Linked DNA regions of Homo sapiens: all the other regions are linked to region 1. Evidence: promoter capture Hi-C in human tissues and cell types (Jung and others, 2019). All regions are on one chromosome and are shown on one strand. Each heading gives the region's core, a stretch centred on a gene start or on the middle of the fragment in contact. The rest is flanking DNA. Distances are from core to core; before and after follow the strand shown.

Region 1 (3,737 bases), core at 352-2,851:
GGACAAATAACTTCAGTTTTAACCTAACGAAAGCTGGGTTGGTTGGAGGACTGGGCAGGCAGCGCTGGAAAGTATGTCAGCACCATACCTGACTCCCTGAATGCACTCAACAATGCCATTACTGACCACTTACTAGAAATAAAACAGTCATTTGTTGAATACAACCCGTTTCTTTTTACAAGTGTAGTGAAAAGTGTTTTCTTTCAAGAAACCCCATGCATTTATAGACATTGCCTCAGTGACCCTTTATGAAAGAAGTCACTAGTCTTTGTATGCCCATTGGGCAAGGGCACCGCAAGGCTCAGAAGGAGGAGGCAGTGGGCTAGGAGAATCGAGAGATCAGAATTTTAAACTCAGCCCAGCCATTAACATGCCTCAAGTACTCCTATCATATTTGTAAGAGACAACAGTTCACTGAAATGAATTCTAAGGTCTTTGGGTTTTTATCAGTGTGCTTCTGTAGTTTCTGAGGAAATCTAAGGCACAACTGAGGAATGAAGTCAGGCTTTCCAATTCCCGAAATACTCCTCCACTGCTTACTCATGTCCCTTGGAAATTAAGAAGGAAGCCAGGAGAATAGCTGCCATAACCAGGGATGAACTTCTTGTCCACTGCTGCCTGCTATGCTAGCAACAGCCTCCTAACTCATAATGACTTAGCCATGAGGAATGTTTCTAGATTCTCCTTTAGCTGTCTGCCCATTTGGAAGATGCTGAGGACAGAGAGAGGACCCAAGCAGGCAACTAGTTGGAGGACTTGTACACGTTTCCTTCCAGCAGTATGTCAGAGAGGTGGCAGCCCACTGGGGACAGGGCTGCCTGGGTTCTGTGCTCGAGGGGACCTTGAGCAGGCTATTTAACCCTTCTGTGCCTCAGTTGCCTGATCTATAACATGAAAATTAGCAATCCCTACTAGATAAAGTTGGGGAATTTACAGAGTTAATATTTGTAAAGGTCTGAGAATATTCCTGGCAGAGTAAGCACTCTGTGAGTATGACACTGGCATTTCTTCTGCAGCACTACATGCTGTCTATGCCTTTGTCCAAGTCTGAAACCCTAGAACTCTTAGAATTCAGTTCAATGTTTACACAATCCTACAGTTCTGCTAGGCTTCTATGATGCTACTATTCTGCATTTGAATGAGCAAATGGATTTAATGCATTGTCAGGGAGCCGGCCAAAGCTTGAGAGCTCCTTCCTGGCTGGGAGGCCCCTTGGAATGTGGCCTGAAGGTAAGCTGGCAGCGAGCCTGACATGCTTTCATCTAGTTTCCTCGCTTCCTTCCTTTTCTGCAGTTTTCGCTTCAGAGAAAGCAGAATCCTTAAAAATAACCCTCTTAGTTCACATCTGTGGTCAGTCTGGGCTTAATGGCACCCCATCCTCCCCATTTGCTCATTTGGTCTCAGCAGTGAATGGAAAAAGTGTCTCGTCCTGACCCCCTGCTTCCCTTTCCTACTTCCTGGAAATCCACAGGATGCTGCATTTGCTCAGCAGATTTAACAGCCCACTTATCACTCATGGAAGATCCCTCCTCCTGCTTGACTCCGCCCTCTCTCCCTCTGCCCGCTTTCAATAAGAGGCAGAGACAGCAGCCAGAGGAACCGAGAGGCTGAGACTAACCCAGAAACATCCAATTCTCAAACTGAAGCTCGCACTCTCGCCTCCAGCATGAAAGTCTCTGCCGCCCTTCTGTGCCTGCTGCTCATAGCAGCCACCTTCATTCCCCAAGGGCTCGCTCAGCCAGGTAAGGCCCCCTCTTCTTCTCCTTGAACCACATTGTCTTCTCTCTGAGTTATCATGGACCATCCAAGCAGACGTGGTACCCACAGTCTTGCTTTAACGCTACTTTTCCAAGATAAGGTGACTCAGAAAAGGACAAGGGGTGAGCCCAACCACACAGCTGCTGCTCGGCAGAGCCTGAACTAGAATTCCAGCTGTGAACCCCAAATCCAGCTCCTTCCAGGATTCCAGCTCTGGGAACACACTCAGCGCAGTTACTCCCCCAGCTGCTTCCAGCAGAGTTTGGGGATCAGGGTAATCAAAGAGAGGGTGGGTGTGTAGGCTGTTTCCAGACACGCTGGAGACCCAGAATCTGGTCTGTGCTTCATTCACCTTAGCTTCCAGAGACGGTGACTCTGCAGAGGTAATGAGTATCAGGGAAACTCATGACCAGGCATAGCCTATTCAGAGTCTAAAAGGAGGCTCATAGTGGGGCTCCCCAGCTGATCTTCCCTGGTGCTGATCATCTGGATTATTGGTCCGTCTTAATGACACTTGTAGGCATTATCTAGCTTTAACAGCTCCTCCTTCTCTCTGTCCATTATCAATGTTATATACCCATTTTACAGCATAGGAAACTGAGTCATTGGGTCAAAGATCACATTCTAGCTCTGAGGTATAGGCAGAAGCACTGGGATTTAATGAGCTCTTTGTCTTCTCCTGCCTGCCTTTTGCTTTTTCCTCATGACTCTTTTCTGCTCTTAAGATCAGAATAATCCAGTTCATCCTAAAATGCTTTTTCTTTGTGGTTTATTTTCCAGATGCAATCAATGCCCCAGTCACCTGCTGTTATAACTTCACCAATAGGAAGATCTCAGTGCAGAGGCTCGCGAGCTATAGAAGAATCACCAGCAGCAAGTGTCCCAAAGAAGCTGTGATGTGAGTTCAGCACACCAACCTTCCCTGGCCTGAAGTTCTTCCTTGTGGAGCAAGGGACAAGCCTCATAAACCTAGAGTCAGAGAGTGCACTATTTAACTTAATGTACAAAGGTTCCCAATGGGAAAACTGAGGCACCAAGGGAAAAAGTGAACCCCAACATCACTCTCCACCTGGGTGCCTATTCAGAACACCCCAATTTCTTTAGCTTGAAGTCAGGATGGCTCCACCTGGACACCTATAGGAGCAGTTTGCCCTGGGTTCCCTCCTTCCACCTGCGTTCCTCCTCTAGCTCCCATGGCAGCCCTTTGGTGCAGAATGGGCTGCACTTCTAGACCAAAACTGCAAAGGAACTTCATCTAACTCTGTCCTCCCTCCCCACAGCTTCAAGACCATTGTGGCCAAGGAGATCTGTGCTGACCCCAAGCAGAAGTGGGTTCAGGATTCCATGGACCACCTGGACAAGCAAACCCAAACTCCGAAGACTTGAACACTCACTCCACAACCCAAGAATCTGCAGCTAACTTATTTTCCCCTAGCTTTCCCCAGACACCCTGTTTTATTTTATTATAATGAATTTTGTTTGTTGATGTGAAACATTATGCCTTAAGTAATGTTAATTCTTATTTAAGTTATTGATGTTTTAAGTTTATCTTTCATGGTACTAGTGTTTTTTAGATACAGAGACTTGGGGAAATTGCTTTTCCTCTTGAACCACAGTTCTACCCCTGGGATGTTTTGAGGGTCTTTGCAAGAATCATTAATACAAAGAATTTTTTTTAACATTCCAATGCATTGCTAAAATATTATTGTGGAAATGAATATTTTGTAACTATTACACCAAATAAATATATTTTTGTACAAAACCTGACTTCCAGTGTTTTCTTGAAGGAAATTACAAAGCTGAGAGTATGAGCTTGGTGGTGACAAAGGAACATGATTTCAGAGGGTGGGGCTTACATTTTGAAGGAATGGGAAAGTGGATTGGCCCCGGTCTTCTCCACTGGGTGGTCTCCTCTGAGTCTCCGTAGAAGAATCTTTATGGCAGGCCAGTTAGGCATTAAAGCACCACCCTTCCAGTCT
Region 2 (3,737 bases), core at 613-3,112, 85 kb before region 1:
TGGGGGGGGACACTCTGCTATGGTCATGTACACCTTATTAAGCACTGCTTGAAATCCTCCCTACCACAAAAGTGCTGTGATTTCAAGGTTTCCCTCTTTTATGGGAAAACCATAGCACAAGAATCTACACTGTAAACCCTATGCCTACTTAAGCCCAGAAGGAGCCTGTTACCTCATAGAATAATCTTATTTTGCCTTCAAAAGAAGCAGTTATCAAGTGCTCGCTGGGCTTCAGCTGTTTTCACATCCATTTTATTTTGAAAGCAACTGCCCTGCAGATCTTGTGACCCTTGACTGATAGGCGAGGCACCCGAGAACATGGGAACGAATGCATGTGCTCGTGGTTTTCATAGAATTTGGGGCATTGGAAAATGGAAGGTAGGTGCTTCTGGGTCTCAGAAATTTGCACGTCAGAACCCCTCCTAAGGGGCGTCATACGTGTCTCTGAGTCTTGTATACAGAGATATCCAAGCAGGAGTGGAAGAATGCTTTTTAAAAAGTAACAAAGTCAGGCCTAGTAGATAGAGTCTGAATGACTCATTATAACATAACATTTTCTCCTGTCTCTCAAAACAGGAGAATTAGCTCACTAACTATTATATAAGCTCTTTGAGGACAGAGAACAAGTCTAATTGAGCATTACATCCTCAAAGACTGGCAGAAATCTCAAAACATCAGAGATGCTCAAAACTATGGAAAGAAAAAAAAATGTCCTCAAAGAAAACTTCAGCGCATATTCTTCTTTTTATTCAAGTATCCACTGATTCACCTTCATGGGCCAGGCTCTTGGGTACAATGTGCATGAGGCAGTTCAAGTCCCCACCATCCTGGGACTTGGTCTAACTAGTGCTTCTGCACAAATGAGCTTCCAACAGTTGTGTATTCTCTGATATTGCAGGATGAACCATAGGCCCTTAAAGAAGAAAAGAAAAAAAAAAGAAAAAGAGTACTTAACAATTGCATTCTTTGTGTTTCTTGCCAGAATGGACCAGAAACTACTAGCAATTATGTTGAAGCCATTAGTGCAAAGCCAATTTGCTTCTAGAGTTACAGTTGCACTCCAGGAACTTGAGCTACACTCCAGAGAGATCATTAGTTGCTGCAGACATGTTACTGAGGGCAGAGGTGTCATTTCCAGTCTGGAATGTCCTCAGTCAAGTGTGGGAGCAGAAAATGGGGGTCAAAATAATTAACCTCATGTGATTTTGGCAGGACTTCTTGCAAAATCACCCATATACACTTAACATTTATTTCAGTTGAATAATCTCAATGTATCAGTTTTATCAAAATATTTCTTTTTCTCTTTTATTTTCCCACCTGGCTGACCTTTTTTTTTTTAATTTTTTTTATTTTTTTTTTCTGGCTTTCAATACAAACACCTTTAACTTACTTTCTTTGATTCCATTCTCCCTTCCCATTCCCAGTAATAGATGATTGTAACTAATGGAACTCACAAGTATTGCTGGTTGATGCCTTTGCTAGGATTTTCAGTACCATAATCCTCTCACCAGATCATAAGTCTCAGGAGAAAACACCTAATTTCTCCCTTTGTAAAACTTTCCTTGACTTCGTTTCAATTAAATCACTTTCACCGACCCCAGGCCTCCATTAACTATATCCATCGAAATCATCTGTTTCACCACTCTGTGTCCGAGGCTGAGGCAGACACCCCGGCAGCATCCCAACTGACCGAGGAGATGACAGAGTGGGGCTGGCAGGGGTTCAGTTATCAACTCTGGGTTCCAATACTGTTTCCACCAGTCACTACTGGAGATGGGTCCTTCAACAGCTCATCGGGAGAATGAGGATAACAACATTTATCAGCTTGTAAGAAATAAAATGGATAAGTATGTGAAGTTTCTATCAGTGTGGATTTTGATGAGCCTTAATTCCATCATCTCCATTCAACAAACATGTCCTGAAATCCACCTATATGCAAAGTGTTGCACACGACATAAGTTTGCCAGCTGGGTGCATTGGCTTACCTCTATAATCCAGCACTTTAGGAGGCTGAGGCAGGAGGATCGCCTGAGCCCAGGAGTTTGAGACCAGCCTGGGCAACATGGTGAGATCCTGTCTCTACAAAAACTTTTAAAACTTAGCCAAGCGCGGTGGCATGTACCTATGGTCTCAGCTCCTCAGGAGGCTGAGGAAGGAGGATTGCTTGAGCCCAGGAGTTTGAGGCTGCAGTGAATTGTGATCACGCTGCTACACTCCAGCCTGGGTGATAGAGCAAGACCCTGTCTCAATAAATGAATAAATAAGTAAAATATTTAAATAAAATATTTAGAACTGGTATGAGATATTTCAGTAATTGGGGTATAATTACAGTCACATATTTTTGTTGTTATTAAATGAATCACTCAAGCCATTTCTTCTAATCAACATGAAGTCCAGAATCTCTCTCCTTGCTTCTTGATATTATTTTATCTTCCCTGTATTTATTCTCACCACTTATCTAAGAGCTCCAGGGCTTTGTCAGTCACTCTTGCTTTACAGGGATGCCCAATCTTTTGGCTTCCCCGGTCCACAACGGAATAAGACTTTGTCTTGGGCCACACGTAAAATACACGAACACTAACGATAGTTGATGAGCAAAAAAAAAGAAAAAAAGAAAAAACATGTTTATAATGTTTTGAGAAAGTTTACAAATTTGTGTCGGGCCACATTCAAAACTGTCCTGAGCGGCGGGCTGGACAAGCTTGCTTTAAAATATCAATCAGGGCCATCTCCTCCAAGGCCAAGTGCAATTGCCCCCAACTACCACCAGAGGTCACTGTGGAAGAATGATCTCATACAGGTCTAGAGACACTTCCCACCACAGCCAAGGCCATGCTGGTGCTGGCCTAGATAACCGCACAGTGGGGAGCTGCGGTTATATTTCCCTTAGTTCACAAGTACACATGTTCAACTGTTGTTACTCAGGTCTATACACTGTGTCAGGGGAACCAGGTGCTGAGACCCTTCCAGACGCGTTTATACACTGAGCTTCAACTAGATCTCCCTGAGCAATCTACCTGGCCCCTTCTCTCCAGTCCATGAACCCTGGTGAGTGCCACCACTCTCTGCCTTGTTTATTCCCCTCATCAAATGTTTCTAGGATCATAGTTACCATCTTGTTCCCTTTCGGCCGTGTGGATCTACAGGATCCATTTGCAGATTGGTCTACACCTTCTCAGGTCCCTACATAATAAAGAGAGACAGCTGCTATTTCTCAAAAAGTGTCTCCAACAGTATCCATCCCTCTTCCTGACAACACACACACAAAGTCCTTGTTACAACCTCAGGAAAATGACTGCCTCTCATAAAAGAAAATGTGGTTGTCCTTCACAGAGAAGGGCCACCGTTTTTTTGTTTTGTTTTGTTTTGTTTTCCCCCTAAATGATTGCTGTTATATCTGGCCAGATGCTCAGTCTTAGGTACTAAAAACACAAAACAAGCAAACAAAACATTGCCCTGGAGAAGCTTAAAATCCAGAGAAGTCAAGAAACTCCCAGACCACTCCAGGCAGGAAGGAATTGCCCCGTTTGATTAATTCTCATCCCATCAGACATGCCTCCAAGGAGACCAAGAAATCCTAAGTACCAAGGACCATGAGAAGAAGATGGCTGAGGAGGCATACAAACAAAAGGAACCTTGAACAAGCAGACCTCTATCATTGCCCTATGGGCTCTTTCTACCTGCTGCACAGACAAAACCAATTCACTGAGACCATGGTACTGCAGTAGAGAAAGAGT
Region 3 (3,737 bases), core at 747-3,246, 77 kb after region 1:
AAGGGATTAACATTTTATTAATCTTTTCAAAGAGCAAACTTTTTGCATTGGCATTTTTCTTCATTGCATGTTTATTTTATGTTTTCATTAATTTCTGCTTTTATTTTTTTTGTTCCATTTTTTGGATTTGATTTTCTACCTTTTTTCTAATTCTTGAGAAAAATACCTAGATGACTGATTTTAAGTTTTTCTTTTTAATACATGCATTTAATTCTATGAATCTCTGTCTTTTTCATTGGGTAAAACCACTTTATTAACTGATCAAAGTACTTCATTTTGTTTCCTGATTCGAGGTTCAACCATTAAACACAGTTCACAAGAAAATACAATGATTACTTAACTAACTGCAATTACAAGAGTTAGAAATCTCCCTAGTTGTTCACATAATACTTGTACAAATTCACACAATCGTGTGGACCACTTAAGCTTAGTGTGAACCAAAAGAGCAAACCATAGTCATGGCTAGAGTTTTGTAATAACAGAAGAGTAATTGTTACCTTATGAATATACTTTAAAAATCACTTGGCTAGTAATTGTACTGTTTCCTCATTGCTCTGGGGTGTGTATGAAGGCTCTTAGGAGAGCAAACATCTATTTCTGTTCTGTATGCCTCTCTCTCATTTCAAACTGTGTAAAATAACTATTGCCCCACCATGAACATTGGGGATTGGAAAGATAGTCCTACAATCTTCTTCATAGGTTTTGGCTTTTAGGCAAGCCGGCTGGTTTTCTCCAAAGCTTTCTTTTGAATCTTCAGATACTATTTTAATCCTAAATGTAGATTACTGTGTTTGTGAGGGTATCTAAGTGACCATGTGATGGCAAGGACAACAAAGTAGTCCAGGAACACAGTAAGTGAGTGTGTGTGTGTTTGTGTGTGTGTGTGTTTCCAACTGAGCCCGGCTTTGAGATTTCATTTTGTTAGTTGACAGCTCTTTAATCAATACCAAAGACTCTGGAACACTGCAGATTTGCTATGGAGGTAGATAAAACAAATCAGGCAGTTAAGTCAATTGAGAAAAAAAGGGATTTTCCATCTTTAGATAATATCACGACTAACAGTTGATTCTTTATTCTTGGTGCACATTTAACATTTCTACCTATTTTGGGAAATATTCAAGTCTTCTTCTTTTTTTTTTTTTTTATTGTTCATTCTTGGGTGTTTCTCGCAGAGGGGGATTTGGCAGGGTCATAGGACACTAGTGGAGGGAAGGTCAGCAGATAAGGGTCTTCTTACCTGTCTCTCAGAACAAACACATTTAAATTCAGCTTGTATTAACTACAGATAAAAGAAAAAAACAGTATTAACATTTGTATGACAGCACTGCCGTTCACTTTCTGGATTTGTGACACACAAACATCATGCATTCTAAGACAGAAGTTAATTTTATCAGTGTCACTAGTGTTGTTAATTTTAAAAGATACAGCAAGTTCAAAGCTTTTCCAAAAATTGAAATCACCATGTTTTAAGACAGACTGGAATGTTACAAATGATTCTGTAAAATAATCATTTTTCTGTACATTCTCATCTTTTGGTTCTTCCTTATCTGAATCCACAGTGGGTACCTCCCATCCTTCAGCAGTTTATCCAGGTGAGAATACTTGAATGTGAACTGAGAGGCCCAGTCACTCAGGGTCTCCTCCTGGGCAGGAGGGAGGTCAGAAAGGTCATCATGCTTGTCCTGCAGTGCTCCCTTATCCAGGCAAAATGTGGCAGGGCCCCTGGATGTATCTCTTTCGGCAAAGATCCTGTGTGGCCCCCTGGCCCTTGGAACTTGCAACCTCTGGTCACGCTGAACACTTTGCCCTTGCTGGTGTGGCCATGAGAATGTGCAGGTCCTAAACCCCATTGAAGTGCTGCAGCTCGGCAAGGGAGAAGTTGTACCTGTTGCCACCACATCTTTGGCAGCAAAGTTTAGGCCAGGCTAGGCAGGGCTCTGGAGCTCCCTGCTTTCTCCTCCCTCTCAATGAGTGAGTTGCCGCTATGAATCTCTTTTTTTTTTTTGAGACGGAGTTTCACTCTGTTGCCCAGGCTGGAGTGCAATTGTGCGATCTCAGCTCACTGCAACCTCCACTTCCTGGCTTCAAGCGATTCTCCTGCCTCAGCCTCCCGAGTAGCTGGGATTACAGGCGGCCACCACCACGCCCGGCTATTTTTGTATTGTTAGTAGAAACAGGGTTTCACCACGTTGGCCAGGCTGGTCTCGAACTCCTGACCTCAGGTGATCCACCCGCCTTGGCCTCTCAAAGTGCTGGGATTACAAGCGTGAGTCACTGCAACCGGTCGCCACTATGAATCTCTTAAACACAGCTTTTAAAGCTCACACATTTTAATATGACACATTTTCATCATAATTTACCTCAAAATATATTCTCATTTCCATTGTGATTTCTTCTTTGATCTATGAGTTATTTAGACAAAATTGACTAAAGTTTTAAGCTTTGAGATATTATAAAAATAAATCATTTTATTGTTGGTGTTAATTTAATTCCATAATGGTTAAAGAACACATTCTATGTGTTCAAACCTTTTCTATTTTTGAGATTAGCTTTGTAGTCCAACATAGAGAGTCAGTTTGATAAATGTTCCACGTGTATTTGAAAAAATGTATATGCTGAAGTTGTTGGTTACAGACATGTCAACTAAGTAAATTTTGCTTGTAGTGTTTTTCTACTCTAATGACATTTTCAGAAAAAAAAATGAAAGCTGAATGAATTTGTTACTAGAATAACAATATTTCACTATGAGAAAATCTGAAGGGAAATGATTCCAGTGGAAACACAGATCTTCAGGAAGTAAACAACAGCACTGTAAATGATCAGGAGCAAGACAAGAAGCATCTCCTATTCCTTTTCAACATTGTTCTCAACGTCCTAGGCAGTGCAATAAGGTAAGATAAAAAGAAACAGAGACATAAGGATTAGAAAGAAAGAACTTAAAATGTCATATACAGGTAACATGATTATATACATAGGAAATACAAGGAGATCTACAAAAACTACTAGAATGAAGTGAATTTCTCAAGATCACAGGAATTAAGCTAATATACAAAAATCACTTGAATTTCTATATACTAATAAGAAATTAGAAATTAAAGTTTTAAAAATCCATCTATTGTATCATCAAAAATAGAATAAGAATAAGAATAAATTTAACAAAAGATGTGTAAGACCTCTATACTGAAAACTACCACACATACTCAAGGGAAAATGAAGAAGGACCTAAATAAATGAAGAGCTATATACCACATTTATGGAGCAGAAGGCTCGATAATGTTAAGCTGTCAATTTAGGATGGAGCTGGAGGCCATTATCTTTAGCAAGCTAACACAGAGACAGAAAACCAAATACTGCATGTTCTCACTTATAAGTGGAAGCTAAATGATGAGAAGACATGGTCACATGCAGGGAAACAACACACACTGGGGCCTTTCAGAGGGAGGATCTGAAAGATCCTACCCACACTGGGCGGAGGGAGAGGATCAGGAAAAATAACTAATGGGTACTAGGCTTAATGCCTGTGTGACAAAATAATCTGTACAACAAACTCCCATGACAGAAGTTTACCTATGTAACAAACCTGCACTTGTATCCCTGAACTTAAAAGTTTAAAAAAAGTCAATATAATCCCAATTAAGTCCCCATGGTCTTTTTTTTCTTAATTTTTTCCAACTGTTATTTTAGGTTCAAGGGGTACATGTGTAGATTTGTTACATGGGTAAATTGCATGTCGTGGA

The links. The method cuts DNA at HindIII sites, captures the fragments that hold promoters and counts their contacts. A contact is called where the count stands out against the background at its distance.
Region 2: a fragment that was not itself captured here is called in contact with the fragment with the promoter of CCL2 in region 1 in 2 of the 25 tissues and cell types used here (mesendoderm cells and spleen).
Region 3: a fragment that was not itself captured here is called in contact with the fragment with the promoter of CCL2 in region 1 in 6 of the 25 tissues and cell types used here (H1 embryonic stem cells, aorta, hippocampus and 3 more).

What each region holds. Positions count from the first base shown.
Region 1 is chr17:34,253,684-34,257,420 of GRCh38, forward strand. It overlaps CCL2 (C-C motif chemokine ligand 2), which reads left to right and starts at 1,602. Exons shown (of 3, transcript NM_002982.4): 1 at 1,602-1,742; 2 at 2,539-2,656; 3 at 3,039-3,520. The coding sequence starts at 1,667. The coding sequence ends at 3,144. RefSeq lists enhancers at 324-1,298, 1,299-2,273. The HindIII fragment of the contact is 9,151 bases long and covers 1-3,737 here.
Region 2 is chr17:34,168,647-34,172,383 of GRCh38, forward strand. LINC01989 (long intergenic non-protein coding RNA 1989) reads right to left here. Exons shown (of 6, transcript NR_110748.1): 6 at 730-913. Among named protein-coding and RNA genes, the nearest start is that of LINC01989, 13 kb to the right of the region's middle. RefSeq lists a silencer at 2,773-2,882. The HindIII fragment of the contact is 5,451 bases long and covers 1-3,737 here.
Region 3 is chr17:34,330,351-34,334,087 of GRCh38, forward strand. No RefSeq gene overlaps it. Among named protein-coding and RNA genes, the nearest start is that of CCL8, 13 kb to the left of the region's middle. The HindIII fragment of the contact is 4,891 bases long and covers 1-3,737 here.